4 separate regions of the Homo sapiens genome follow, and regions 2, 3 and 4 are each linked to region 1. Evidence: promoter capture Hi-C in 16 types of primary human blood cells and fetal thymus (Javierre and others, 2016). All regions are on one chromosome and are shown on one strand. The core of a region is centred on a gene start or on the middle of the fragment in contact, and the rest is flanking DNA. Distances in the headings are between cores, read along the strand shown. Region 1 holds the start of ZNF418 (zinc finger protein 418). Region 2 overlaps ZNF550 (zinc finger protein 550). Region 3 holds the start of ZIK1 (zinc finger protein interacting with K protein 1). Region 4 holds the start of ZNF134 (zinc finger protein 134).

Evidence for each region. The method cuts DNA at HindIII sites, captures the fragments that hold promoters and counts their contacts. A CHiCAGO score of 5 or more calls a contact.
Region 2: a contact is called between a fragment that was not itself captured here and the fragment with the promoter of ZNF418 in region 1, in 1 of 17 cell types (fetal thymus). The highest score is 6.3, in fetal thymus.
Region 3: the fragment with the promoter of ZIK1 here is called in contact with the fragment with the promoter of ZNF418 in region 1 in 2 of 17 cell types (erythroblasts and fetal thymus); the score reaches 5.6 in erythroblasts.
Region 4: the fragment with the promoter of ZNF134 here is called in contact with the fragment with the promoter of ZNF418 in region 1 in 2 of 17 cell types (megakaryocytes and total B cells); the score reaches 6.0 in megakaryocytes.

The regions. Positions count from the first base shown.
Region 1 is chr19:57,931,704-57,938,737 of GRCh38, forward strand. ZNF418 (zinc finger protein 418) reads right to left here and starts at 3,699. Exons shown (of 6, transcript NM_133460.3): 1 at 3,458-3,699; 2 at 2,114-2,199. The coding sequence starts at 2,119. RefSeq lists enhancers at 3,102-3,984, 3,577-3,666. The HindIII fragment of the contact is 3,111 bases long and covers 3,183-6,293 here.
Region 2 is chr19:57,551,794-57,558,827 of GRCh38, forward strand. It overlaps ZNF550 (zinc finger protein 550), which reads right to left. Exons shown (of 4, transcript NM_001397372.1): 2 at 4,438-4,564; 3 at 834-929. Among named protein-coding and RNA genes, the nearest start is that of ZNF550, 4.6 kb to the right of the region's middle. The HindIII fragment of the contact is 8,378 bases long and covers 1-7,034 here.
Region 3 is chr19:57,581,478-57,588,511 of GRCh38, forward strand. It overlaps ZIK1 (zinc finger protein interacting with K protein 1), which reads left to right and starts at 2,668. Exons shown (of 4, transcript NM_001010879.4): 1 at 2,668-2,912; 2 at 3,475-3,513. The coding sequence starts at 2,880. RefSeq lists enhancers at 2,177-2,708, 2,405-2,504. The HindIII fragment of the contact is 4,281 bases long and covers 1-3,626 here.
Region 4 is chr19:57,611,462-57,618,495 of GRCh38, forward strand. It overlaps ZNF134 (zinc finger protein 134), which reads left to right and starts at 2,781. Exons shown (of 3, transcript NM_003435.5): 1 at 2,781-3,042. It also overlaps a transcript of ZNF530 not described here. RefSeq lists an enhancer at 2,676-2,855 and a silencer at 2,986-3,035. The HindIII fragment of the contact is 2,580 bases long and covers 2,358-4,937 here.

The sequences.
Region 1 (7,034 bases), core at 2,449-4,948:
AGCCTTCTGTGGAGATGGGATCTTACGTATGTGCAACATCAACCACTTTCTTTTAAGAGATGGGGTGTTGCTAAGTTGCCCAGGCTGATCTCAAACTCCTGGCCTCAAGCAATCCTCCCACCTCAGCCTCCCAAAGTGCTGGGATTACAGCATGAGCCTTCAAGCCTGGCCAACAAAGTATTTTAATCCCCTTCTTTTCCTTCTACTGCTCTGAGTGGGATTCTCCCCTTAGGGTTATAGTGTTGGGGAAACAATTGACACCTGAGACTGTACATATGCCATCCACAGCAATTTCAAAATCAAATAACTCACAGCCTGGCAGAGAGGGCCACATGGGGGTTGCACTGTGGACAACAAATGGAAACCAGGGACAGTGTTATGCACACTTTGTAGGATGAAGAGGGTGTGATAGCCCCTGATTTCTCAGGAGGGTGCCACTGACTTGCTTAAATAATTCTGAGTAGAAATGGAATTGAAACCCAGTACAAAGTATAATAACCAGAAACTGTGCCTGATCCCTTAATGAAAAGGGTTGTTAGGCCAGGATACATTATCCAATAGAACAGAGTGGGAAGGGGATTTGTGCTCAGGCCATTTGAGGTCATACAGTATCACCACACACCAACGTTGCACATCACATTGGCCTTTCATTTTCGGCCTTATGCCACAATGTGGCTGACAGAATTCAGAGTATGCTTGGCAAATTCAAACAGGATCCAATATTACCACAGAATTCTCATGGCTCCCAATAGCAATGCAGTCCCAAGTCATTCTATGAAGGCCTTCTTGCATGGCTCCACATCCCCACAGAACCAGGTGGGGCTTTAGATATCCATGGCCCTATTCCACTTCTGTGTTGCACTTGGTGACCCCTCTACAATGACGACTTTCCTCTGTCCACCTAGAGTCATTTAAATCCCACTCCCTTGTTATGGAGAATGGTCTAAGAAAAGTGGAAAACAAAAGAAAAAAATAAATAAAATCCCAGCCCATCAGCTGTCCACCCCAGGCCCAATGTCTGTCACAGATAACCAAATTTACCCTGAGCATGTATCCACCAGGCCGAATGAAAACCCCCAAGCACCAACAAAGTTTTCTCAAAATCTTGGTGAGTCCACAGAGTGGTGAATAAGTACCAGCCTTGGCCCAAGTGTCATCTTCCTTCAATTATTTCTATGCTTCTGCTTACATCTCTTATCTATTCTACCCTTGGAAAGCCTATGCCCCCTGACAAACCATGTTGTCTGACATACCCTATCTTCATGAGCCCTTGCCTCCTTCTCCTGTGGCAATGTCAGCCAGGGACCCAAGCAAGAAATTCAGCCCTCAGCCTGCAACCACCCCTTCCTGGCCCCCACAAAAGATTTACCATGAAAATTTGAAGTGTGTCAATGTCATAATGGAGGCTAAACTATCTCAGACTCTTAACATGGTCAAAACAACATTCTTCACATCCCCAATGAATATTATACCTACTATGTGCTCATCTCAGTTGATGCAGCTTCCATCACTGCAGATGCTAAGACCAAAAACCTGGTGGTCATACCTGATTCCCCTTTCATGCCCTCACAGTCTATTAGAAAATCTAGTTACCGACCGGGCTTGGTGGCTCACGCCTGTAATCCCAGCACTTTGGGAGGCCGAGACGGGTAGATCACGAGGTCAGGAGATCAAGACCATCTGGCTAACACGGTGAAACCCCATCTCTACTAAAAATATTAAAAATTAGCCGGGCATGGCCGGGCTTGGTGGCTCATGCCTGTAATCCCAGCACTTTGGGAGGCCGAGGCCGATGGATCACGAGGTCAGGAGATTGAGACTATCCTGGCTAACACAGTGAAACCGTCTCTACTAAAAAATCCAAAAAATTAGCTGAGCATGGTGACGGGCGCCTGTAGTCCCAGCTACTCGGGAGGTTGAGGCAGGAGAATGGCGTGAACCCGGGAGGCAGAGCTTGCAATGAGCCAAGATCGTGCCACTGCACTCCAGCCTGGGCGATAGAGCGAGACTCCCGCTCAAAAAAAAAAGGAAAATCTAGTTGCCATTTTACAAACTGTGAATCTTGAATCCAGCCACAGCTCCTTACTCATTAATATGGTCCAGTAACCCTCACCTGCATTATGGCAGGAGTTTAAACTCTGATCCTCCTTCCTCCTCCCTCAAACACAGTGTGTTCTCTTCTTTGCAGCCAGATGATGCCTGCAGACAAATGGGACTGTGGTAACATCACCTCCTCGCCGCCCTCTTGCCTCCCCACCGAATTTTTACCTCTAAGCATTTCATGACCTGGTACCAACTCTGTAGTTAACCTTCAAAGTATGTTTACATGGGTTGACAGAAATGGGAATACCTCCATACATCCTGTGTCATGGACTTAGGATTCTGGGTTTAGGGTTTCTCCAGTGTTCTCAGATCAAAGGACTGAAAAAATGGCAAGTAAGAGTCCCAGGACATCACAAGCTAGAGAACATGTGAATGGGGAATAAGGCCAGTGAGGGAATGGAACACCCTCTAATTCCCTCTGTGGGTTCCTTTTTTTGAGCCAGAGTTTCGCTCTTGTTGCCCAGGCCGGAGTGCAATGGCTCACCGCAACCTCTGCCTCCCGAGTTCAAGCAATTCTCCTGCCTTAGCCTCTGAGTAGCTGGGATTACAGTCATGCGGCATCACCACGCCTGGCTAATTTTGTATTTTTGTTAGAGACGGGGTTTCTCCATGTTGGTCAGGCTGGTCTCGAACTCCCGACCTCAGGTGATCCGCCCGCCTCGGCCTCCCAAAGTGCTGGGATTACAGGTGGGAGCCACCTTGCCCGACCCCCTCAGTGGGTTCTTTACGTGCTTTTGTAGCCAGGAGTGTCTGAGGGGAAAGCAGACGTTACAAAGGGGATCTGATAAGCTCAGGTCTCCTTGAACCTTTTCTTATCGCTGGAGCCAGGTGACCTCAGACTGGTTGACCTGCGTGTCTCAGTGCAAAATGTCATCTCTACCACCTATGTGATCTATCAACAAAGGAGTCAACCTCCCAGAACCCTAAGGTCCTCATCTCCTCTACTATGTTCTTCCTTTGGCCTTTGGGAAACCTTAAAAGCCTGGACTTGGATCGCATCCCTCCTTTCTTCGAAACTCTCCATGGCTTCTAGCGTCTTCACAGCGAATACACAGCCCCCAGCCTGCTCTTCCAGGAGAAGCTTCGCCTCACACGTTGTTCCCTACAGGCGCCTGTGGACCCCAGGTTCCATCCTCCCGGGTCTGTCCTCCAGGCCATAGCCCGCGCCGGTCCCTGTGCCTGTCGCTCTCCCCACCGCATCCCACAGGTGTCAGAAACAAGGACCTCTCCCGCGAACGCCTCAGTGTCCCGACGCCGGGTCCGGGCTGCAGACCTGTGAACAGTCGCCGCTCTCTCGCTGCTTCAGGATTCGGGTTAGGATGAGGTGACCTGAGGGCAGGGAAGGCACAATTACCTGAGCCGGGAGCCTCAGCGCGGCCGCCGCCATCCCGAGTACGCGGGGAAAGCACTGCCGGGAGCGGCGGGCGCCGTTACGGGGCCTAAGATCTGCCTCTGTGCAGCAAGAAGGACTCTTCACCTTCTGGGTTCAGACACCGCGGTTCGGACCCATAGCTCCAGCGCCTCTCACCTCACAAACCGCAGAAACACACCCAACATTAACCAAAATGGTCGCTACCAGAGAACGCTGAGAATCCCGCCACTACGTTACGTGCGCACACAGAAACGCCTTTATTCTGAGCCCTTACTGGTTCTGTTGCGCTGTCATTCAATGTAGAGCTTTCTGGGTAATGTAGTTCCCCAGGTTCCAAGGTAGTAAAGCTGCCGCTTCCCAAAGGCGCTTCTGCAGGGAAGTCCCAGCCCTACCTCAGGGGGTTCATTAAAGCGCGTACCCTTTTAGGGCAGAGGATGGTCTCGCCCCTCCTTAGAGGCCATATTGAGATTCCTGGGGAATCCCTGTTTGTAACTGACCACCTAAGTGTTTGCAAAAATATTAATTCACATTTCTGTAAATTCAAGCTCCCAGGCGCTAAAAATACTGTGAAGGCCCCCAAAGGCTACAAATCCAAATTCGTGTATCACTTTATACAATCGTTTAGACACAGAATGCTTGCACTGGAAGCAGAGGCTGATAAACATTACTCTGTTATAATTCACATGAATGCACTCTTGTTACCGGATAGAATGTCTTGGCTGTGAGTTGTCCAGTTGTTGGCGCATTGAACAAAGAAGTGAACAAAACACACAAAAAAAGCAACGAAAGAACGGACCAATGAAAGCGCAGATTTATTGAGGGGAAAGTACACTCCACAGAAGTGGAATGTAGGTGTGGGAGCAGGCGACCAAGCGGCTCAAGAACCCCGATTACAATGTTTTTTAGGGTTTTATTAGGTTGGTGCAAAAGTAATTGCGGTTTTTGCCATGAATAAGCTAGAATTTTATAATACCCCAAGAGTTCTTTAAAGGCCTCCAATCCTATGAAGGACTGGTGCACAACCAATCAGAGGCTGAAGTGGAGACTTCTGTCTTGTTACCACAGGAGTGAGGACGTGGCCTGTGTGCTGCCTCATCTTGCCTAGAACTAGCTGCACCTGCTGTTCTTTTGCTTATGCCTTCATTCTTGGTTACCCTAATTCCCTATTCTCCTGCCTCACTCTGAGGCATTAGAGTTGGTTTTTCAGTCTGCCAGGGACAAAAGAGAACTAATCCAGATAGGACCATGCCAAGGAAGATAGAGGAGAGGCTAAAGAAAGAGTACAAAGGTCAATCAGTCGTTCCCATGGAAAAACAACTCTCCTGCTTATATAGTCAATTATTGTGTCCAATTCATTCAGCAAAACATTTATTCATGTAATATCCCTTACTTGGTATTCTAACTTATATTTTCAACTCATTTTAGGAACTTGAAGTCAGTCTCAGGTAAAGAACAATGAAAGAGAAATCTCAGCTTGGTATTGGTAATGGTGGTGATAATCTCCACCTGGAGACACTAGGCGTATGTTAAATTATCGAGCTTGTTATCTTTCCTGGGAAGTGATTATCATTTGTTTCTCTTGTGACAGCGGGGAGTGTTCTGCATGAGGAACTAATATGATACCAGAAAAACAGGTGAAATGCCAGTTACAGAAACTTATTACCAACGACTATCTAATAACTGCGATGACAGAAATAGGTCAATTGAAACATGAGTGGATGGTGAAAAAAATTTACACTTCACAGAAGTTTTTCTTTCTTTTTTTTTTTTTTTTTTTTTGAGACAAAGTCTCGTTCTGTCCCAGACTGGAGTGCAGTGGCGCCATCTTGGCTCACTGCAACCTCCACCTCCCGGGTTCAAGCGATTCTCCTGCCTCAGTCTCCCAAGTAGCTGGGATAACAGATGCCTGCCACCACGCCCAGCTAATTTTTGTATTTTTAGTAGAGACAAGGTTTCACCATGTTGGCCAGACTGGTCTCAAACTCTTGACCTCTGACCTGCCTGCCTCCTTCTCCCACAATGCTGACATTACAGGCATAAGTCACTGCTCCCAGCTGACTTTACAGGTGTTTGTTTGTTTGTTTGTTTGTTTTGAGAAGGAGTTTCACTCTTGTTGTCCAGGCTGGAGTACAATGGCACAGTTTCAGCTCACTGCAACCTCCTCCTCCTGGGTCAAGCAATTCATTCTCCTGCCTCAGCCTCCCAAGTAGCTGGGATTACAGGTGCCTGCCACCACACTCAGCTAATTTTTGTATTTTCAGTAGACACAAGGTTTCACCATTTTGGCCAGGCTGGCCGCAAACTCCTCACCTCAGGTGATCCACCCGAGGTGGCCTCCCAAAGTGCTGGGACTACAGGTGTGAGCCACCTCGCCCGGCCCAGAAGTTTTAACAGTGATGTCTACGAAGAGATGGAATTAAGGTCAGCATGTGATTAAAAATGTCCCCCTTGTTGGTTTTGTCATTGAGATTTTTTTTTCTTTATTAAAAACATTGAACAATACCAAGGTGGAGAAAAATTGTGCCTGTTCACCTACCTACTTGGGAGGCTTAGAGGGAGGATCACTTCTGCAAAGGAGTTTGAGGCCAGCCTGGGCAGCAGAGCAAGACTCTGTCTCCAAATAAATAATTTAATGAATAAGTAAAAACAGAAGGTGAAATCTGCAGTATAGTATTATCCTCATAGAATTGTGTCTCCCTTTCTTCATTATTCTGTGTGTCAATTATGTTACAAGTTTTTCATCTTATAGGAAAAAAGTCATAGATTCTATACACATCTGTACTTTTTCTCACTTAGCAATATGGTTTGAACAATGAAAAGCTTCTTTTTCACTTCACATTTGAAATCTGCTTATCTCCACATTCTATTTTTTTCTCCCCTTTTTGAGACAGCGTCTCACTCTGTTGCCAAGGCTGAAGCGCAGTGGCATGATCAAGGCTCAACTGCAGTCTCAACCTCTCAGGCTCAAGTGATCCTCCCATCTCAGCATTCAGGAGTAATTGGGACTATAGGCATGCACCACCACAACCAGCTAATTTTTGAGAGATGTGGTTTTGCCATGTTGCCCAGGCTGGTATCAAACTCCTGAGTTCAAGCAATCCTCCTGCCTCGGCCTCCCTAAGTGCTGGCATTATAGGATTCGGCCACTACACCTGGCCTATTCATCTTTTTCTGATGTAGAACCCACTCAGTGACAGTGTAATCAAGAATCAAGAAAGAGGCCAGATGCAGTGGCCATGCCTGCAATCCCAGCACTTTGGGAGCCTAAGGTGGGCAGATCACTTGAGGTCAGGAGTTTGAGACCAGCCTAGCCAACATGGCAAAAACCCGTCTCTACTAAAAATACAAAAATTAGGTGGGTGTGGTGGCGCACATCTGTAATCCCAGCTACTCGGGAGGCTGAGGCAGGAGAATTGCTTGAACCCGGGAGGCAGAGGTTGCAGTGAGCTGAAATCGTGCCACTGCACTCCAGCGTGGACAACAGAGCAACTCCGTCTCAAAAAAAAATAGAGCCAGAATACAATACACAAGCAACTGAAGTATTTCAACAGCAAAGAAA
Region 2 (7,034 bases), core at 2,018-4,517, 380 kb before region 1:
CTACACTCATCAGCACAGATGTAGGGCAGAGAAGGCCAAATGTCACCTTGGTGTTTCTCAGGGCAAGAGGGGCAGGAAGATATGGAGCAAAGGGCTGCTTCCGAGTCTCTGATGGTCTAACTGGAGGATGGATGAGTGGACGGAGAGGGTGGAAAAGAGTGGGATTCACAGCATAATGCAGACAGTAATATCAAGGGGAGGAAAGTCCCCTTTCTCTTGAGTCCAGAAAGAAATGTATGACATTACATTTATGATGATTAAAACTGTTCATGCATAATACTAACTAGCTGACATTTGTTGATCCTATGGACCAGGAACTGAACTAAGCAGTGTCATGTGTTATCTCTACATCCTCTAACAACTCAATGACACAGAAATTATATCACTCTGATTTTGTTGAGTAGAGGAGTCTGAGGTGATGTAAACCAAACCCATTAATTCTTTTCCATGGGCACATAGCCAAATCACATTTGTCAGTCCTGAGCATCTAGGTGTGGCCAAATGCCTAGTTCTTGTCAAGACTATGTGGTTGTCAAGTATGTGTACAACTGGGTATGACTTCTCCCCTTCTTCTTGTTCCCCTTCTACCAGCTGGATTGAGCCAGAGCAACCATAAAGATTCCTGTTCACAGCAAAAGGTACCTGTGTCTCTGAATAATTGTGTGGCTCAGTGCTCACCTGATGATGGACACTATGACCCAAAGTGAGTCAGAAACAACCAGGCCCCCGGAAAGCCACAATGAGCAGTTTCACACAGAAATTCAGAGGCAGTGGTGCCCTCACATTATCTGAAGACTGCCATGACTCCACATGACCAGCTGGTGGCTGCTTACCTGCACAGGTAGCATGTGAGAGGCCTCTCTTCACTATCCACAGCTCCTGCCCATGCTCTAGCAGGTGGACCAACTCTGGTTTGGGAACCCGATGCCCTGTTGATAGCAAAAGAAATAGAATAGGGGTAATTTAATGAGAAAATGAAAGTCTCTCCATCTTGCCTAGGACTTCATGACAGGGTCCAGACATGAATGCAGCTGCTCCCAAAGTAAGCAAAATGCTGATGTGAGCCCTGAAAATCAAGGGCATTGCTCTGAGTGAGCTGTGTTCCCCATAAAAATCATATGTTGATGCCCTAACACCCAACGTGACTGTATATGGAGACAGGATCTTTAGAAGGTAATTAAAATTAAATGAGGCCACAAGGGTGGAGCCTTAATCTGATAAAATTATGGCCTCATAAAAACAGAGAGAGATCTCTCCTCTGTCCCTCCACCTTGTAAGAACACAGCAAGTCAGCCATCTGCAAGCCAGGAAGAGAGGTCTCAATAGGAATCAAATTTGCCGACACCTTGATCTTGGACTTCTCAGCCTCCAGAAGCATAAGAAAATAAACTCTCGTTGTTTAAACCACCCAATCCATGACATTTTATTATGGCAGCCAAGGAGATAAAAGACAGGCACAAATCCCACTGTTGGGCTACAACTGCCATGGAGGGTAGTGCTATCTGTCTACACAACACCCACTGCCCATGACCTCCGTCTATGGAAGCCAACGTTGTTCAGGCACACAACACTTTGACAGCCATGGGACACGGCAAAGGTGTGCTGCTTCCTCCAGAAGGCATTTTCTTTCTTTCTTTCTTTCTTTTTTTGAAACAGAGTCTCACTCTGTTGCCCAGGCTGGAGTGCAGTGCTCGGCTCACTGCAACCTCTGCCTCCCAGGTTCAAGGGATTCTCGTGCCTCAGCCACCCGAGTAGCAGGGATTACAGGCATGCAAAACCATGCCTGGCTAGTTTTTGTATTTTTAATAGAGACTGGGATTCACAATATTGGTCAGGCTGGTCTCGAGTGCCTGGCCTCAAGTGATCCTCCTGCCTCAGTCTCCCAAGGTGCTACTGCACCCGGCCCCAGGAGGCATTTTCTAACAAATCTAAATCATTGCTTCTCAAACACCTCGTGCTTTCAGAACCACTTGGGGATGCGTGATTCCAACCTCAAACCAAATGAAACAAAATTTCTTCGTGTGAGACCTGGGCATCAGTACTTCCAAAATGTGCCCCCCAAAATTCTGGTGCCCAGATGGGGCTGCAAACCACTGGCTGAGGCTGGACATGGTGGCTCATGCTGTAATCCCAGCACTATAGGAGGCCGAGGCAGGAGGATCACTTGAGGCCAGGAGTTCTAAACCAGCCTGGCCAACATGGTGAAACCCCGTCTCTACCAAAAATATAAAAAATTAGCCAGGTATGGTGGTGTGCACCTATGGTCCTAGCTACTCAAGGGGATGAGGTTGGGAGGATTGCTTGAGCCTAGGAAGCAGAGGCTGCAGTGAGCTGAGATCATGGCACTGCACTTCAGCCTGAATGACAGAGCAAGACTCCATCTCAAAAAAAAAGGAAAAGAAAAACCAGTGGTTGAAATAAATTGGTAATGCAAGAGTCTTCATTAGGCAGGTGACCAAAGCTGGATTCTCATTGTGAAAAGAAAGCATTTATTCCAAGGTGGGAGGATGGATTGAACATGGGGGCCTGCTGCCCCAGTCAAGGCTGCAGCACCCAGCATCCCTATGAGGAGCCAGCCTGAGGACAATCAGAAGCCTGAACCAAGAAGAAGGAACAGAGAACCAAGACATCCTTGATGGCGTCACTGGGCTGCGGCACCGAACAAGCCTGGAGCCAACCACACCTCAGGCTTCTCATCAGGCGAGTTAGTGAATTTCCTTCCAGGTGAAGCCAGTTTGATCTGGTTTTCTGTTATATGCAGCCAAATGCTTTCCACTAGATGTGGTGAGTAAAAGACAGGAGGATTCTGTATAGAAGACCAATGACTGAGGTACAAGGATCCACAGAAACATCGACTGGCAGATTCTGAACCATAGCCCAGGATTCCTTCAGACATGTCACAGTAAGGTCCACCAATGTGTGCTACATGCCTGGCTTTGAGTTCTGGGACAGGGCTGTGGGAAAGGTGAATCAGATGATCCTTTGGCTCTCCCAAGAGCTGAGCTCCCTGTCACTTTTCACACGCTGGTTCCTCCACCTGGAACACTGTTACCCTCTTCCACCTCCTTCTATCCAGCTAACTCCTACTCAGCTTTCAGGTCTCAGCTCCACTGTCACTTCCTGAGATGCCCTCTTTGGAACTCCCACAATAGGTTATGACATCCTGCTTATTTATTCCTAAATTCCCCTCATTTTTCTTTCTAGAACTTATTTCAGTTGTCATCTATGGATTGATGTCCACCTTCCCAACTGAACTCAGAGTGTGCCATCAATTCTAATAACTTCTTTATCCTGACCCACTTTTGTTAAATATTGTATTCTAAAAGGGAACCTTGTTTTGCTCTGGTAAGTGAGAAAGTCAATTTCCCTTCCTACAAATAGAAGTCTGCAATCACAACACAACAAAATCAAAACAATGCCACTAAGTCCCAGGAAACCCTTGTATGTTTCTTAGGGCTAAGTTGGAGGTTGTCCCCTCTGTTAAAAAAAAGAAATGAACTGCACTGGGGGAGTGAAAGGAAAATGAAAGACTCAGCGCTGATCTGAGACTTTTCTTTTTTTTTGAGCCGGAGTCTTGCTCAGTCACCCAGGCTAGAATGCACTGGCGCAATGTTGGCTCACTGCAACCTCCGCCTCCCAGGTTCAAGCGATTCTCCTGCTTCAAACTCCTGAGTAGCTGGGATTACAGGCGCGCACCACTGCGCCCAGCTAATTTTTGTATTTTTAGTACAGACGGGGTTTCACCATCTTGGCCAGGTTGGTATTGAACTCCTGACCTCGTGATCCACCCGCCTCGGCCTCCCAAAGTGCTGGGATTACAGGCGTGAGCCACCACACCCAGCTGATGAGACTTTTATGACAAGAATTAGCGTGCTGGACAGAGAAAGTAAAAGGAATGGCTTTATCAGGGTATCAAACCATGCCATTTGAGGACATTCCTGTGTACCCTCTAAAAACACCTCCTGGATCAACAGAGCATGGATATCAAGCATCAGAAAACAACTAATGACCATGCAGGCACCCAGATGCCTTTTTACAGAGATTGTATTGCTTAGGAAGATATCCGAGGGGCACTGAGGACAAATGTCTTCTGGGGGGCTGCCTGACTCACCCCTTTCTCTAAGAACAGCCCATCACCCATGGCCCCTGCTTAATAGGGCTGTGGCCACAGCTGACCCCACCAGGATGGCCAATCAGCTTCCTTCTTATGCAATCTTGATTAAGGACCTCAGAATGGGCTGAGCACTGGAGTGAGGGTTTGTGTTAAAAGGACATTTTCTACCCCGACAATCTCTGATGCAGACAAAGGGAGACCAGTCAGGAAGAGGTGGGAACAGAAAGGTCTGTCAAGAGAAAGGTGGGCAGTTCCAGTGACCTTTTTGCCTGGCCAAGAATCAGGGTTAGGGTCCTCCTCAGGGATGAGAGGTGAGTCATTACCTAGTGAAACCAGAAGCCCACAGGTCTCCAGCATCACCTCTCGGTACAGGGTCCTCTGGGCCAGGTCCAGCTGTCTCCACTCCTCCCGGGTAAAGGTCACAGCCACATCCTTGAAGGTCACCAACATCTGGAAAGTCAAACAGAAGTAATGCTATTGGCCTTGTGTTGTCGCATAGGATCAGAACCTGTCACTCAGTCTCTAGTCAATGTGCAGAGAGATCCAGGTCTGAATCAACTAGGTCTCCTTTGGGCTGACTTCCGTGCAGGGCTCAAAGGGGAGGCAGATACTGCCTTTTGACAATGCAATTGTGCCTGAGAGAAAAGCCTTCTATGGGGAAGCTGTTGAAGATGACACAAACAATGGCAATCCCACGAGGACTATGGGAAGCAGAGAGTAAGTACTCTGGCATATTAAAAGAATGGAGGAAAATGACTGATACTAATCCAACCACAATAACAGCAACAGCAGCAGCTAAGTGTGGGGGAAAGAAAAATAGATCAGACCGTTACTGTGTCTATGTAGAAAAAGGAAGACATAAGAAACTCCATTTTGATCTGTACTAAGAAAAATTCTTCTGCCTTGAGATGCTGTTAATCTGTAACCCTAGCCCCAACCCTGTGCTCACAGAAACATGTGCTGTATTGACTCAAGGTTTAATGGAGTTAGGGCTGTGCAGGATGTGCCTTGGTAAACATGTGTTTGCAGGCAGTATGCTTGGTAAAAGTCATCGCCATTCTCCCGTCTCGGGTACCCAGGGACACAATGCACTGCGGAAGGCCACAGGGACCTCTGCCCGAGAAAGCCTGGGTATTGTCCAAGGTTTCCCCCCACTGAGACAGCCTGAGATGTGGCCTCGTGGGAAGGGAAAGACCTTACCTTCCCTCAGCCCGACACCCATAAAGGGTCTGTGCTGACGAGGATTCATGAAAGAGGAAGGCCTCTTTGCAGTTGAGATAAGAGGAAGGCATCTGTCTCCTGCTTGTCCCTGGGAATGGAATGTCTTGGTGTAAAACCCGAGCGTACATTCTATTTACTGAGATAGGAGAAAGCCGCCTTATGGCTGGAGGTAAGACATGCTGGCGGCAATACTGCTCTTTACTGCACTGAGATGTTTGGGTAAAGTCAAACATAAATCTGGCCTACGTGCACATCGAGGCACAGCACCTTTCCTTAAACTTATTTATGACACAGAGTCCTTTGCTCACATGTTTTCCTGCTGACCCTCTCCCCACTCATTACCCTATAGTCCTGCCACATCCCCCTCATGGAGATGGTAGAGATAGTGATCAATAAATACTGAGAGAACTCAGAGACTGGTGCTGGTGTGGGTCCTCCATATGCTGAGTGCCAGTCCCCTGGGCCCACTTTTCTTCCTCTATACTTTGTCTCTGTGTCTTATTTCTTTTCTCAGTCTCTCATCTCCACCTTGCAAGAAATACCCACAGGTGTAGAGGGGCAGGCACCCTTCACTAAGTCCTCTGGTCCTCACTGTGTCCCTGCCAGGCTAAGGCTTCCTTAGCCGTGGTAAAGCAAATAAAGGCCTGACTTAAATCAGGCCTCCTGAATCTGACACTTGCCAGCTATGTGACTATGACGATGTCACATGATCTCTCTAAGGCTCGATTTCCGAATCAACACAATAACTATTCCCATCTCAGCAGGCAGCTCTAAGAACTAAACAGAAAATGTTCACTTAGGCAATCAGTGGAGTGCCTAGCACATGTAAGTGCCTGATGTGTTTGGGAACTTTATTAATCCCCTGACAGGCCCAGAGGTAAATGTCGTTATCACTTCCATTTCACAGTCAGCAAAGGCTCAGGGAGCTTTAGAAATCAGGCACAGCCTCACATTTAAAAAGCAAAAGCAGCATTTGAGCACCGCTAAAACACCTCACCAAGCTGCCAGAGAGCAGGCAGGTGGGAGTGAGGGGTGCTTTTAGCTACAGCCAGCACTGCCAGGATGGGTGTGGAACTGCAGCCCCGCAGAGACCTGAGAACAATGTCTCAGACAAAGGGAAGTGCAAGGGCAAAGGCTGAAAATGGGAAAGAGCTTGGCAAGCTCAGGATTCCCTGGATGAATGCAGTGAGAAAGGGGACAATGGAAGAGGAGAAAGAAGATGCGGTCAAAAGGGCAAACCAAGTACAGCCTTGCAGACCATGCTGGTAGGAGGGGGTGGATTTATTGGAAATGTGATGAGAGTCCCTATAAGAGAGGCCTATTCAATCATCAACCATTTATTAAGTACAATAAATGTACTTAAGCCTGGCTGTTCTGGGTCTTGGGAGAGGGAAGCAACAGGCACTCACATTCCAGGGTTGGAAAAAGATCCTAAACAGGCAACTAAATAAATGAGTAAGGCAATGTCAGATGGCCTTAAAGATTCAGATGACAAGAAAACAGAGCAAGGAGACCAAAGAGACTCTGGTCAGCTTTAAACGGTGCAACAGACGAGACCTCTTTAAGCAGCGGACACCAGAGGGAGTCAGAAATAAAGCAAAGGAGGGAGAGGTGGATGAGAAATTAACAACTACGACAGGAGCTGACAGTAATCTGGGCTATCATGAAAGTAATCAGAGTGACTGCTAGAGAGTAACCC
Region 3 (7,034 bases), core at 1,418-3,917, 350 kb before region 1:
ATGTACCCCTAAAGACTAAAGATAAGAAATCAAAAAAATAAAGACAGGATGGAGCTAAACCTGGGCCCTCTGGAATGTTCTACCTGCAGATGGAGCTGGCCTCCACTATCTTCAGTCCCTTGCTAGATGTCATGGTCCTTGAGGTCAACACTCCCCACACCTGCGGAATCCCTTGGGATTAACTGGGTGAACAGTAATCGAAGTTAGTGGACTATATGAATGACGCTGCCAAGCTATACTTGAATAGCTGTGCCAAATAGACAAACACAGAAAGAAAACACAAAACAACCCATCCACATCCTAAGGGCTTCACACTTTCTTGCACTCTATCTTCAATGTTTTTTCAGCTTTCTCTTTAGGTACTTATTGACTGTTGGTCTCACATAAGTTTAGCCATAGATGGAATTTATTACTGCTTTGTGACCACTGGCAGCCTCCCTCATCTCTGGCTGGGCTTCTCCCTGAAGGACTGGGCCTCAGGAGTAGGTGGGTCATTTGTCCCCTGGGCATGCCACACAGAGCAGGTTTTCCGAACTAGGCTATCCCTCCTCCCCAAGTTATCCAGGCAATTCCGCTAGTTCTATGCCTAGATGGACACACATGCTTGAAGTTTGGGGAGCCATGTTTGATGTGATGTGGCAACTCTGAAAGGACAGTGAGGGTGAGGGCAGGTGTTAGGTGGCCATTGTGGGGGCTGCTGGCCTCTGGGACCAGAGGGTAATGAGGTGCACAACCGTGTCACCTAGAGGGTGCCAGTGTTAATAAGGAAAAGGGTTGCTGTCCGACGCACACAGAAGCCAATGCCATGGCACCAGGTTTTTGAGAAAAGCAAACCTTTATTGCAAGTCGACAAACAAGAAGACAGGAGTCCAGCTCAAATCTGTCTCCCCAATATGGGGTTTGGGGCAGCTTTTAAGGATTAGGAAGGACAGGTTGGTAAGCACTGGAAGGGTGGATTTTGATTGGAAGGACTTCAAACAAATCTATTGATGGCAAGGCGGGGATGGGGTTGTTATCACCCAACATTCAGAGACAACAGACCCCTTGCTTTCGGAAGTGTTTCAGCACTTGGGTTCCAGCCATAGCCTGATATTTTGGTTTCCTGTGGTGACAGGGTGGAGTCTGGTAGGTGAGACTTCAGCTCCGAGTGTTGGGTCAATGTTTTCTTTTCTCTTTTCTTTTTATTTATTTATTTATTTACTTATTTATTTATTGAGACAGGGTCTGGCTCCGTTGCCCAGGCTGGAGTGCAGTGGCATAATCATAACTCACTGTAACCGTGATCTCCTGGGCTCAAGCGATACTCCCACCTCAGCATCCTGAGTAGCTAGGATTACAGGTGCACCACCATACTCGGGTAATTTTTTAGTTTTTGTAGAGACGGGGTCTGGCTATGTTGCCCAAGTGGTCCTTCCACCTCAGCCTCCCAATGTGCTTGGATTACAGGTGTGAGCCACCGCGCTGGGCCTGACATTTTCTTTTCTGCACATTCTCTAGCTGTGTAACTTGCAACTCTTTAGCTCTGTGCCTGCAAAATAACTGGACATTATGTTACCAACAGAGGATGGCCAGATGAGACTGGTCCAGTGGTTAAACCTGCACCTTCATGGAGGCCATTATGAGTATCCCTACAGGCCGAGTCTCAGGGTGCCCCCAGAAGCCCATACCAGCCGCTGTAAGGCAGAGCATGGACTTCCCCTCGGGGACTAAATCCCATTCTTGGGCTCCAGAGGCCTTGTTCCTACCACTGTACGCCACCGCTTGGGGTGCCCTGGGAACCCGCCTACCTCCCTACTGCCCTGAGGGCGGTTGGAGATGGTCCCAGCAGGTGTGGGAGATGAGGTAGGAGACGTCTTCAACGGGGTCCAAGGCTCATCTGGACCCAGTTCTCAGCCGAGGGGCGGTGGAGAGGGCGTCAGAAAACGCAGGAACGGCTCCTAGACCCAGGAGGGGACTCAGGGAAGCAGAGGCGCTTTCCTCGGCGGCTCTGGGGCCTTCCCAGCTCGCCCGGCCCCCCTGGAGGAGACGTCCCCCGGGGTGGAGCTACGGAGAACCCCTTCCCATGGGACGTCTCGGCCCCGCCTCCCGCCTCTGGGTACAGTCAAAGGGCTCAGGTCAGAGCAGGAGCAGCCGGGGGCGCGGCCCCCACGTGGCCTCCCGGGACACGTGCCCACAGCGCGACACCTAAGTCGCTCCTTTCACAGAATAGCCTTGGCCCCGGCACGGCCTCGAACGCCTTGACCCCGCAAGGGAGGGGCACGAGGCTCCTTTGCTCCCGCAGGAGCGTCGAATACGTATGGAATACGCGTCGGTGTGGATCTGGCCTCAGCTTCCTGAGCCTGAATCAATGCTTCTAATCACGTGGGCGCTCAGCCGCGACGGGACCACAGAAATCGACCAGCGGCCTGTTTAAGGAGCGACAAGGCCCAGCCCTCTCCTGCATTGTGGCGACGCCATTTCCCTGCGCCCCCAGCGCGGCCGCTTGGCTTTTGTTTGAGGTGACGCTGGGCGGCAGCATCCTTCCCTCAGCCCTGGGGACCAGCGGGGACTACAGAACCCAGAAGGTTTTGTCTCCAGCCGCAGGGATGCTGAGCCAATCCGCGCTGAGAAAAGGGTCGTTTCCGCTTTGGGACCAATGGGTCGGGGAGGGACTTCCGGTATCACTTCAGTGGCGGTCATTTTTGCAGCGCTTGGGTGCATCCAGACCGTCAGAGCTTTGGGAGCGCTTTGTTTGGCGACAGTCGGAAGGCGCGAGGGGAGGGGTCCTCCCGCTGAACAGTGGGGGTTCTAAGGGTCGGCGGCGGCGGGGTTGACGGCTTTGCCTAGGTCCCTCCGCCCGTAGCTGTCGGGTCCCGGCCCCGCTCTGCCCACAGACTCCGATGGCTGCGGCCGCGCTGAGGGCCCCGACTCAGGTGAGCGCTGCCTCTACTGGGCCTCACCCTCCATCCCCAAATTAGTGCCTTCTTGGGTCACTACGGTCGAGATCCTCATGTCCAGTACAGTGGGGGCTCGTGGGTGGGGTCCCTATTTCCAGAACTTGGGTGATGGGGCACGGAAGAGGGTTACAGGCAAAGGGACCAGCGTTTCTAAACTCTTGGAGACACAGTGAAGAAGGTTCATACCTGGAGTGCCAAGGTGAGGAGTTTTCCCTCAATTCTTAGGATGCTAGGAGCCGTGGAGGGTTGTGTACAGAAGCGGCATATGGTCTGAGTTAGGTCTTTCGAAGTTTTCCAAAAACCTCATGGAGTTAGACTAGAATAGAATGGAATAACACAGAGGCACAGGGAGGTTGAGTTCTTGTGCAAGGTCCCACAGTTGCTAAGAGTTGGCACTGAGGACTGGAACGCTGAGGCTCAGAAATAATGCAGGCATCCTCAGTCCACCTGGCTCTGGCCTGGACAGGAATCCAGGGAAGCCTGAATCCGTAGAGCCCTGTATGGTCACCTGCCTTTCATGATCTTTGGCTTTCCACAGGTTACTGTGTCTCCAGAAACACATATGGACCTCACAAAGGTGAGTGGAGGGTGTCCCAGGCCCTCACTGGTCCTGGCCCCATCCTGGGGTTTTTTCATGGATCTTTTTGCCACCATCCAGTTCTTTGACCTAAGGACTCTTCACAAACTGGAAGCTTGACATCCTGATTCTAGACTGGTGGTTATTTGTAGACGTTCTTATTGCTGGCAGACAATGGAATGAGGTGTGAAAGGTTGCCCCGCCTACGTACAATAATGTGTAAGGTTGGCAGTGAAGCTGAGCTGATTCAGGGAAACACAACTCTCCTTTCTTTCTCATGGGAACTCAGAGCAGCAGGGCAGGACTCAGGCCTGGAATGGCTCTGAGAAATTGGGTGTTTTTTCTGGAGGTGATGAGAACAATGGGAGGTTTAGAGAAGAGAACGGAGGTTATCTGACACTGGTCTCATCAGGTTCACTGTTAATGCAGCATAGAGAATACTCTGTGGGTGTGATGGAGGCGATAGAAAGACCAGGGAGGAGGCTACTGCAGTGGCCAAGGTGAGTTTTGATAGTGGCTTCACCAGTGTGGTGGCTGTGAAGGTAGAAGAAGTGGCTGGATTCTGGGTCAGAATTTTAATTAGGCCTGCTTGCATTTTCAGATTTTGAGGGTAAGAGATACTGGTCAAGCATTACTCCAGGCATTTTGAATTTAGCATCTGGAAGGATGGAATCTCCATCAAATAGCATGTTATAGGATTGATTTTATTTTTATTTTATTTATTTATTTGTCTATTTTTAGACAGTCTCACTCTGTCACTCAGGCTGGAGTGCAGTGGCTCGATCTTGGCTCTTTGCAACCTCCACCTCCCGGGTTCAAGCAATCCTCCTGCCTCAGCCTCCTGAGTAGTTGGGACTACAGGCACATGCTACCGTGCTACCATGCCCAGCGAATTTTTTTTTTTTTTTTTTTTTGTATCTTTAGTAGAGACAGGGTTTCACCATGTTGGCCAGGCTGGTCTCAAACTCCTGACCTCAGGTGATCCACCTGTCTTGGCCTCCCAAAGTGCTGGGATTACAGGCGTGAGCCACCATGCCCAGCCAATTAATTTTCATTAAGGATAACAGGAGTTTTGTCTTTAGCTATTATCATAGTCTGAGATATTCCAAAGAATGATATATGGAGACATCAGGTGAGTAGCTGTCCATGTACATCTAGAATTCTGGAAGTGGTTTAAGATGGAGAAATCCAAAAGGTGGTGGCCAGTGTTTGGCCCAGAGTAGCTATGGGTCACAATTAGGAGTGGGTAATCCTGGTCTTGAAGATAATGCTATTTATAATGCAGGAAAGGGCTGGGTGTGGTGGCTCACACCTGTAATCCCAGCACTTTGGGCGGCCGAGGCAGGCGGATCACTTGAGGTCAGGAGTTCTAGACCAGCTTGGCCAACATGGTGAAACTCCGTCTCCACTAAAAATACAAAAATTAGCCAGGCGTGGTGGCAGGCACCTGTAATCCCAGCTACTAGGGAGGCTGAGGCAGGAGAATTGCTTGAGCCCAGGAGGCGGAGGTTGCAGTGAGCCAAGATCACGCCACTGCACTCCAGCCTGGGTGACAGAGTGAGACTCCATCTCAAAAACAAAACAAAAAAACAGAAAAGGGAAGGTTGGGGCTATGACTGTGTCTCATGCTTGGACACGTGGTAGAGGTGGTGAGCATCACAAACAGTTGTGAGAGAAAAGTGGTCATGGGAAGATTGTAGGAAAGAGGATGATCTGGTGTATCAGTCCATTTTCACACTGCTGATAAAGACAGCAAGTCTCTAGGAAGTTCCAGACTTTCCCATATTTTCCTGTCTTCTTCTGAGCCCTCCAAACTGTTCCAACCTCTGCCTGTTCCCCAATTCCAAAATTGCTTCCACATTTTCAGTTATCTTTACAGCACAGCCCCACTTTACTCATACTGATTTACTGTATTAGTCCATTTTCATGCTGCTGATAAAGATGTGCTGGAGACTAGATAATTTGTAAGGAAAAAGAGGTTTAATGGACTCATGATTCCGCGTGGCTGGGGAGGCCTCACAATCATGGTGGAGGGTGAAAGGCATGTCTTGCATGGCAGCAGACAAGAGAGAACTTGTTCAGGGGAACTCCCCCCTTATAAAACCATCAAATCTTGTGAGACTTATTTACTATCATGAGAACAGCATGGGAAAGGCCTGCCCCTATGGTTCGATTACCTCTCACCAGGTCCCTCCCATGACATGGGAATTGTGGGAACTACAATTCAAGAAGAGATTTGGGTGGGGACGCAGCCAAATCATATCATCTGATAAGTGGTCAAGGCTTCCAAGGCATTAGGGACATAAGACAGACATGGAGATAAAGAAATAATTGGTAGAAGATGACACTGAGGCCAGGTACAGTGGACTGTGTCCCCGCAAAATTCATATGCTTAAAGCCTAATTCCAGTGTGATGGTATTTGGAGGTTGGGCCTTTGGGAGATAATTAGGTCATGAGGGTGGAGCCCTAATGAATGGGATTAGTGAGTGCTCTTAAACAAAGAGGCCAGAGAGCTACTATCTAGTGCTCTTTCCAACAAGTGAGGATACAAGAAGTCAGCAGTCTGCAACCTGGAAAGAGTCCCTACCAGAACCTGACCATGCTGGCACTCTGATCTCAGGCTTCCTGCCTGCAGATCTGTGAGAAATAAATTTCTGTTGTTGATAAGCCACCCAGTTTGTGGTATTATGCTAGCAGGCCAAACTGACTAAAACACTAGGACTAGTGCTTATTCACCATGGTAAAAACTCGCCAGGAATTTGTTGTGACCCTTGGTGAGTCTGGGGAGGGTGTGAGTCAAGCAGTTGAATAAGTTTAGGAGTACAAGTGTTCATCTGTATGAGTCATTAGGTTGGAGGTAGAGAGCCACTGAGAGTCTGTGCCACTGAGGCCACTGATTTTGAATGAGGGTTAAGAGGTGAGAAGAAGGTTGTTGATTGAAGAGGGGACATCAAGTGCAGCACAAGTGGAGGACGGCCATCGGTGTCTGACATCAGGTGATTCTTGGTGGCTGAGGTTGAAGCAAGGAACAGAGTCAGGAAGATAGCCCTTCAGAGCAGGGTGGGGGCTGTCTATGACAGTAGGAACCATCAGAGGTCTGTGTAGCACTGGATGATGTCTCAATTTGGCAGGCAGAGGGGTGGAGGTAGCCGTGGGAGTGAGACTGAGCGAGTATGGTTCAAAGAATGATGTGTACATGGAGAGGGAGTGTGAACTGAAGGACCCAGGCCCCTGGCATTGAGGACTTAAGGGTCAAAGGTGAAGCCACATTTGATTGTGTCTAGGAGGCACTATCTGAAAGACCCTTGGGGAACTGCCTGACAAGAAGGGATACACTCCTACATACCGGGCCCAAAGTTTAGATGTGGTGCATCCTGCCCACCTCCTGGTTGGTGCTGTAGAAGGATACAGTGATCATTGGGACCATGAAAAGAGAGTGGGCATCTGTGTCACCAGGGCCTGTATTTCCTTAAGGTGGGGATGATTGCGTGGGTGGATGAACTTGTGGAGGCGTTGATTG
Region 4 (7,034 bases), core at 1,531-4,030, 320 kb before region 1:
CAGTACTTGGGAGGGGCCGCATGCAGTTTGTTTACTGAAGTCATACATATACTCATTTGGGGTGATCTTCCCTTAACAAGTCATGCACCCCCAGAGGAAGGTCAAATACCAGTCAAATTTTGCCATCTTGCCCCATTTTGTGCATGCTCGAAACCTTATCAGGGGTTGTGGTTCACTGGCTCCAGGTGTTTTCTATCTGTTGGAAAACTCTTTTCCCTCCTGGTACCAATCATGGCCACTTATCATCTCAGAGGGATAGTTTTATGCTTTCCTGTCCTTCACCCAATGAGAGCTGGACATCTCGGGGGTCCCTCTCTTGTTTTGTTTATTATCTCAGAGGAAAAGATTTATGATTGCCTGTCCTTGACTCCAAAATTGCCTGACATTCCTGGGGTCCCTCTCTCCTGCCCTACTCTTATCTACCTACTCTAACACCAGGGTGAGGGTATGAGGCAACTAGAGACCACCCCTGTAAATCGAAGCCAACCAGAATTATTCAGACTAGCCAGTACTCAGCTGTTTGCTCTGATCTGGCCTAGGCTTTCCCCTAGCTCTTGCTTCTTCCTTTAGACTGAAACCTGTTCCTCCTGTGGCCCTGCATGGCATACTGTACTTCCCATTTCTAGGGAAATTCTGAGTAACATTAAACTTTTATTTCACTGGCATTGAGCTCTCCATGTCCTTTTCCAATAAAGACCCATCCACAAATTGGCCTCTCTTGGCTATGTAATATTACATATCTTTCCAGCACTTCTCAATGCCTTCACCTTCTCTTTTCTCCATTATGCCTGCCACATTCTAACATTCCATATAATTTAGCATTTTTTTCATATTTCCTCCTCTTTCTTGAGTACAGCGTAAGCTATTGGGGTCTGTCTCTTGTTTTGTAAATGTCCCATGCAGTTAAGATAGTGTCTGAAATACAGTAGGTGTTCCTTGAATATTTCTTAGAACTATGAATAAGCATAATACTACAGCATCCCTGTTCACCTTAATATTCTGATAGCACTTTCTAAATGTTTTCTTTACTTCTCCTTCCAGGTATTATTGAGTGTTTTCAAGAATGAAAAGAGGCCTGGCATGGTGGCTCACATCTGTAATCCCAACTTTTTGGGAGGCTGAGGTGGGAGGATCCCTTGAGCCCAAGAGTTTGAGGCTGCAGCAAGCTATGATCGTGCCACTACACTCCAGCCTGTGCAACACAGTGAGATCCTGTCTCCAAAATTAAATAAATAAATAAAATTACATTTTGGAGACTAAACGCTGCTTGTAGTCATAGTTCTAACACAGCTGTGTGCTCAGCTTCATTTGCTCACTTCTCAGAATTCAATGTCTCCTGCTCAAATTTTGCTGTCATCTTAACCGTTTTCACTTATCACAGATATGTTTCTCCAGGTCCATTTCGTCATGTATCTGTGAATAACTACAGAATTATTAACTTTGAGTAATTTGGCCGGGCGCGGGGGCTCTCCTGTAATCCCAGCACTTTGGGAGGCTGAGGCGGGCAGATCACGAGGTCAGGAGATCGAGACCATCCTGGCTAACACGGTGAAACCCCATCTCTACTAAAAATACAAAAAGTTAGCCGGGCATGGTGGCAGGCGCCTGTAATCCCAGCTACTCCGGAGGCTGAGGCAGGAGAATAGTGTGAACCTGGGAGGCGGAGCCTGCAGTGAGCTATGGTCGCACCACTGCACTCCAGCCTGGGCGACTGAGCAAGACTCCGTCTCAAAAAAAAAAAACACAAAACAACTTTTGAGTAATTTAAACAATTCACAAATGTTTTTGTCTTTCTTTCCCCATACACTCGCCCTTTTCTTTTTTAAAACCATAAATAAATCTCAATTCTCAATTCAGACACTGTCGGTGTAATTGCAGGTGAAATGAGAATCACCTCCCAGCCAAGAAATCTGATCCCAATTTTCCAAATCTTTATTTCTGGGTTCAGACACCACATTTTCAGCCCCTGTCTTGGCATATAAAAGCATTTATAATGGTTCTTCTTTTCAGATAAGAAACATCACCAAAAGGAAATAGATATATCTCAACTTTTGGGCTAGGAACTCTCATTTGGATAAAAGAATATTTCTCCTTTGGTTGGACATTAGTGACCATACAGGCAGGAAAGGTGCCTTCCTTGACCACCTTCTCTCGCCTGTCTTCCTCCTCATGGTTCTCTCAGGTATTTTTTTTCTGAGGAAACCAGAGGAAGAGCTCTATATTAGTCCACTTGCCTCAGGGAGCTCCAGCATCCCTCCATAGCCACTGTCTGGAGACCATTCTTCCACTCCATGGCCCTGCCTGGGGACAATTCTCTGTTAACTCTGACCCAACTGAGGCTCACAAAACTGACTCAAAGCTTCCCTCTACAGTACACATATTTTTTAAATGAAGGAAATTTGACTGAACTATGAGTGGACTCAGAGTGACATTGGATGTTGTGTGTCCATTTGGTGGTGTGGCTTCAGGGAACATCTGTAAGAATATATCCCAATATTTCGGGGATCCCTGCAGACCTCACTACACAAGACCTGGTTGAGGGTCCTTTAAAAGGAGCGAAGCCACGCCCTGACCTCAGAGTCTCAGGGCATAATTTCTCAGCGCCCCTCGCAGTACCATTTGGCCTTTGCCCAGCGTGCAGGGGAGTTAGCCGTCACCACGGCCAAGTGCACATGAGAACTGCATTGCCCAGAAACCTGTGCGCCGCCCGGCGGCGGCACTCTTAGGGGCGTCTCCCTGCGGACGGAAGCTCTCTGGGCGGGACTTCCGGTATCTTCCTCGCGGTGGACATCTTGTCGGCTCTTAGGTGGAACCATCGGAGCAGAAGCTCGGGGTTGCTGGGCGGTTCCGAGGTGACGGAAGCGGGAGGGTGCGGGAGAAGTCGCTGTTCGCTCTGCGGAGTGGCTCGCCAGCGAAGACCCCGCCTGCGCCCCCGGGGACGGACGACCGCGGTGCCAGGGTCCCGCGACCTGGGACCCCCTCGCGGCTCCGGGTGGTCTACGAACTGTGATGGCGGCGGCCGCGGTGATGGGCCCGGCGCAGGTGGGTGCTGCCTTTCCCAGACTTTCGCCCGCCCCAAATCCTGAAGTTCCAAATGAGGAGCGCCTGTCTGAGTCCCTGCAGCGCAGGCCCCAGTGTCCAAGGCAGCGGGGCGCTGGTGGGTGGGGGCGAGTGTGACTGGCAGAGGGGCAGCCTGAGCATAGGTTTGGAGCTGGACTGAGCCCGTAGCAGTCGGGAGCGTGTGTGAACCGTAGTCAGGCCTGCAATGTCGAGGGGAGAAGTTGCTCCTTCATTGCGAGGACGATAGGAGCCATGGCGGGTTTTGAATGGTGGAGGGAAGGGATCCGAAAAAGGATTTTTAAAGTATTCCAATGTTTGCTGAGGAGGAAACCGACTACAGTGAGGTAGAAACGATGAGGATGGAGGCAAGGAGACGTTTGAGGAGGTCCCTGCAACAAACTCCAGAAGTGTTGCGGTGGTGGCTGGGCCAGAGCAGTGGCAGGAGGGGTTGGGTGGGGAAGTCATGAGATTCTGGGTAGATTTTTAAAGATGGAACCAATGGGGTTTCCTGCCGCATCAGATGTGGTCGTGAGTGAATGTAGGGAGGAAAGGGCTATCCAGGGTTTTTTTGGCCTGTTTTCCTTCCTGAACGTGTGAAAGAATGGAAATTGGTAAGTCACAGCAGGGAGCACGTTTCAGGGGCATCAGGAATTGGGTTTTGGACTTGGTGAATCTAAGGTGTTCTGCACTGGAGGTTCATCACGGGTAGCTGAACATGCAGGTCTGGGGTTCTAGAGAGGGAGTTGTGCTAGAGACTTCAATGGGTGAGGCATAAGGTCAAAGCCTGTAGTAGATCAGATTTAGAGGGTGGAATTTCAAGGAAGTTATTTTGTGTGGTCTCTGAAGTGAGAGGTGGGTTTAGGGTGGAAGGCCAGGGATGAAGGGGTGGACACTTAAGATTCCTTCCAGAAAGGAGGGGTCCTGGCATGTGAAAGCATTCTAGATGGTGTTGTTGGAAGTCAATGCTTGGTGCTGCAAAGTGAAACCAGCACTCAGGCAAAAGTTTTCTCAGCAAGGCAATTTACTTCTGTGCAAGTGTGCTGCCTGTGTTAATCACGATCCCAAGAGCACACTGAACAAAGGAGGGAAGGGGTTTTTATCTCTAACCCATAGTCCCTACCTTCCTCTGTGTCACTCCCCCATGGGCTGGGGTCGGACCGCTTAATCTAAGCTGAGCCAATTGGGTATTTGTGAGTATTTTCCAAATAAGGAAGAGGGAAGGGGAAGGTGAGTTACAGTGGTGGGACATGTGAGTTGTGTAGGACGTGTGGTTTTGGCGGGGGCAATGGGTGCAAAGTGAGTAAGGGAACAGATGTGAATTATTGGTTAGTGCTTACAGGAAGGTTGTTTATAGTAACTAGGGGCAAGGAGGCATGGAGAACAAGAAAGGTTTGAGAACAAAGAACAAGGAAGTTAACAGGCTAAACCTTTGAAGAGGAATTTTATTATATCTTATAGTGTCAGCAAGAGGAGAGGGCTGTAGAGCATAAGTAGCCTGGCCTGCACTGGAGACCAAGGTGAGGGATGCAGTAGGTTTGCCACCCTACAGGCTCAGCATGCCTTCATGGGCGCTGCCTGTGGAGCAGTCCCATCCCCAACCAGTGCATTGGTGCCTCAGTTACCCAAACCCTCAGGTAAGCAGAATTGATGAACATCTCTAATGAAGGATCACTGCAGCTCCCCTTCAGAGGAATATGTATCAGGTAGGCTGGTTTAGTGCAAGGGCTAGTGTACACCTTGCAAGTACGCAGAAGGAACTAAAAAATGTATGTACAAAGTAAGGGAAATTTATACTAGCACTTAATGATTGGTCAAAATATTAAGTTGCCTTGAAGTATTTTATTACAATGGAAAAATCTTAACCAAATTTTCTTAAAAGCTTTAAAGCAGGCAAAACAAACCTAATTTTTCAAAAACTCATCAGTTCATTTGCATGGATAGTAGTAGCTGTTTCAAAGGCACTTGAGATGTACAGACAAGCCTGATACAAACAGTAGCCCTATGAGGTGGGTGCCATTATTATCCCCACTTTTAAGATGAGGACACTCAGACGCTGGTCTTTATGTTCACACAGCTGGTGGGAGCCAGCACTGAGATCTGAGTATCTGAAGTTAGAGAGGTAACCCAAAATCATTCCTGCCAAAGGGCAGGGTAGGCAGGGCTTAGGGAAACAGTTCAGTCGATGAGATCCCACTGTGGGAACCTGCCACTCCCAGCTTCCCTCCTCTTGTGAGGTTGCCATGGTGGCAGAAACTTATGATTCCTACCTAGATGAGAGTAGATTGTCTCAGGCCCTCACTTAGCCCAACACACCCCCATTATCTCAGCAACTCAGTGTGGAGAATGATAGTGTTCTGGGACTCTTCAGTGTCCCTTCTGCCTACCGTTCTTGGAGGTCCTGCAGTCACCCAAAGCTCTGTGTTGTAAATTCTGTTTTGGAATTATGTGGAAGGGTTTCTATTTCTGGCAAGCAATGGGATGAAATGTGGAACATTATCTCAGGCATAGGAACCAGCATGTGCAAATACTTAACTTAAGGCTAAACTAGGAGTGTTCAGGGAACCTCAGGCCTCCATTATGTCTGGTGGGATCAGACAGCAGGGACAGGATTCAGCCCAGAAATGGCAGCCTGAGGATCTGGGTTTGTATGCTGAGAGAATTGGGAGCCACTGCAGGTTTGGAGCTAGGAGGGAGTGATCTGACTTTGGTCTTAACCAACTTCCTCTGTACAGTGAAAAAAGACTGTGGGAGTGAGGATGAAGGAAGGAATACCACTGAGGAGCTTAATGCAACAGTTCAGGTTGGACCAGAGTGGTCGCTGTAGAGGTGGGAGATGTGGATGGATTCTGAATCATTTTTCTTAAAGTGGGACCAACCAGATTTTCTGATGTGGAAGATGAGAAAGAAAAGGCAAGGGGTGAAGGAAGACCCTGGATTTTTTAGTCTGAGAAGATATAAAGATGCCATCAACTGAAGTGACAAAGTTGGTGGTAGGAGTACCTTTCAGAGGTAATATCAGGAGTGCAGTTTGGCTATGTGGAATCTACCATGTTCCAAAGACACTTGAGTGGAGGTGTCAAGTAGACAGCTGGACACAGAGATCTGAAGTTCAGAGAAGGGATTCAGGTTGGAGCTATCCACAGGGTGGCAGCCAGCATGTGGATCAGGATGGAGCTTTGCTTCCAATTTAGAGAGAGAATCTTTAGGTCATGGTGACAGTGCCATCAGCACACTGTAAGGGCAGACACAGCAGGGTAGAGGTAGGGGCCATCTTAGAGTCTAGAAGAGGGAGGGAAATGTCCCTGGGAGGAAGGGGAATAATAGGGTCAGGCAGGTGGCAAAGCGTTCCAGGCAGAGAGTGGATGTGAGGTGAAGTACTGTAGTAATAGAAGTGAGGTGGCAGTGAGGCCAGAGCCAGTGCTTATTCAGCTCTTTATGTGCTCCTCAGGCTTCCATGGTGACCTTTGGTGGGACCTGTGGAGTTTCAGTCAAGCTAGTGAATTAGCCCAGGGACAGATTGGGTCAGTAGGCAGAATCCCTGTGCTTGGGGTAGGTGCCCAGTGAGTGTAGGTTTTGAATGAGTTAAATGTTGAGAAGCCTGTGACTGACCTCAGTAGTACAACAACAAAGCAGAAAAGGGCTGAGTTTATCTGGGATCTGCACATGGTTCTGGATTGCTGAATTGACCCATGAAATAGAGCCAGGAGGGGAAGATTTAATAGGTGGATTCAGGGCAACCCATGGCAGTGTGGCCGTTGATCAGGACCAGATGTAATCCTGGATGCATTATCCAAGCATTCTCTGGATGCTGTGTGCAGATTTGCATGTGGGGAAGCCATGGAGGTACCAGTGTTGTGGGTGTCCATAGATGTAAAGGAGGTATAGCCAAAAGGGTGATGTGCACATGGAGATGGAGTGTGAATTCATGAGCCCAGAGCTTTGGTATGGAGGGTTTCTGAAAGAATGCTTAGCTC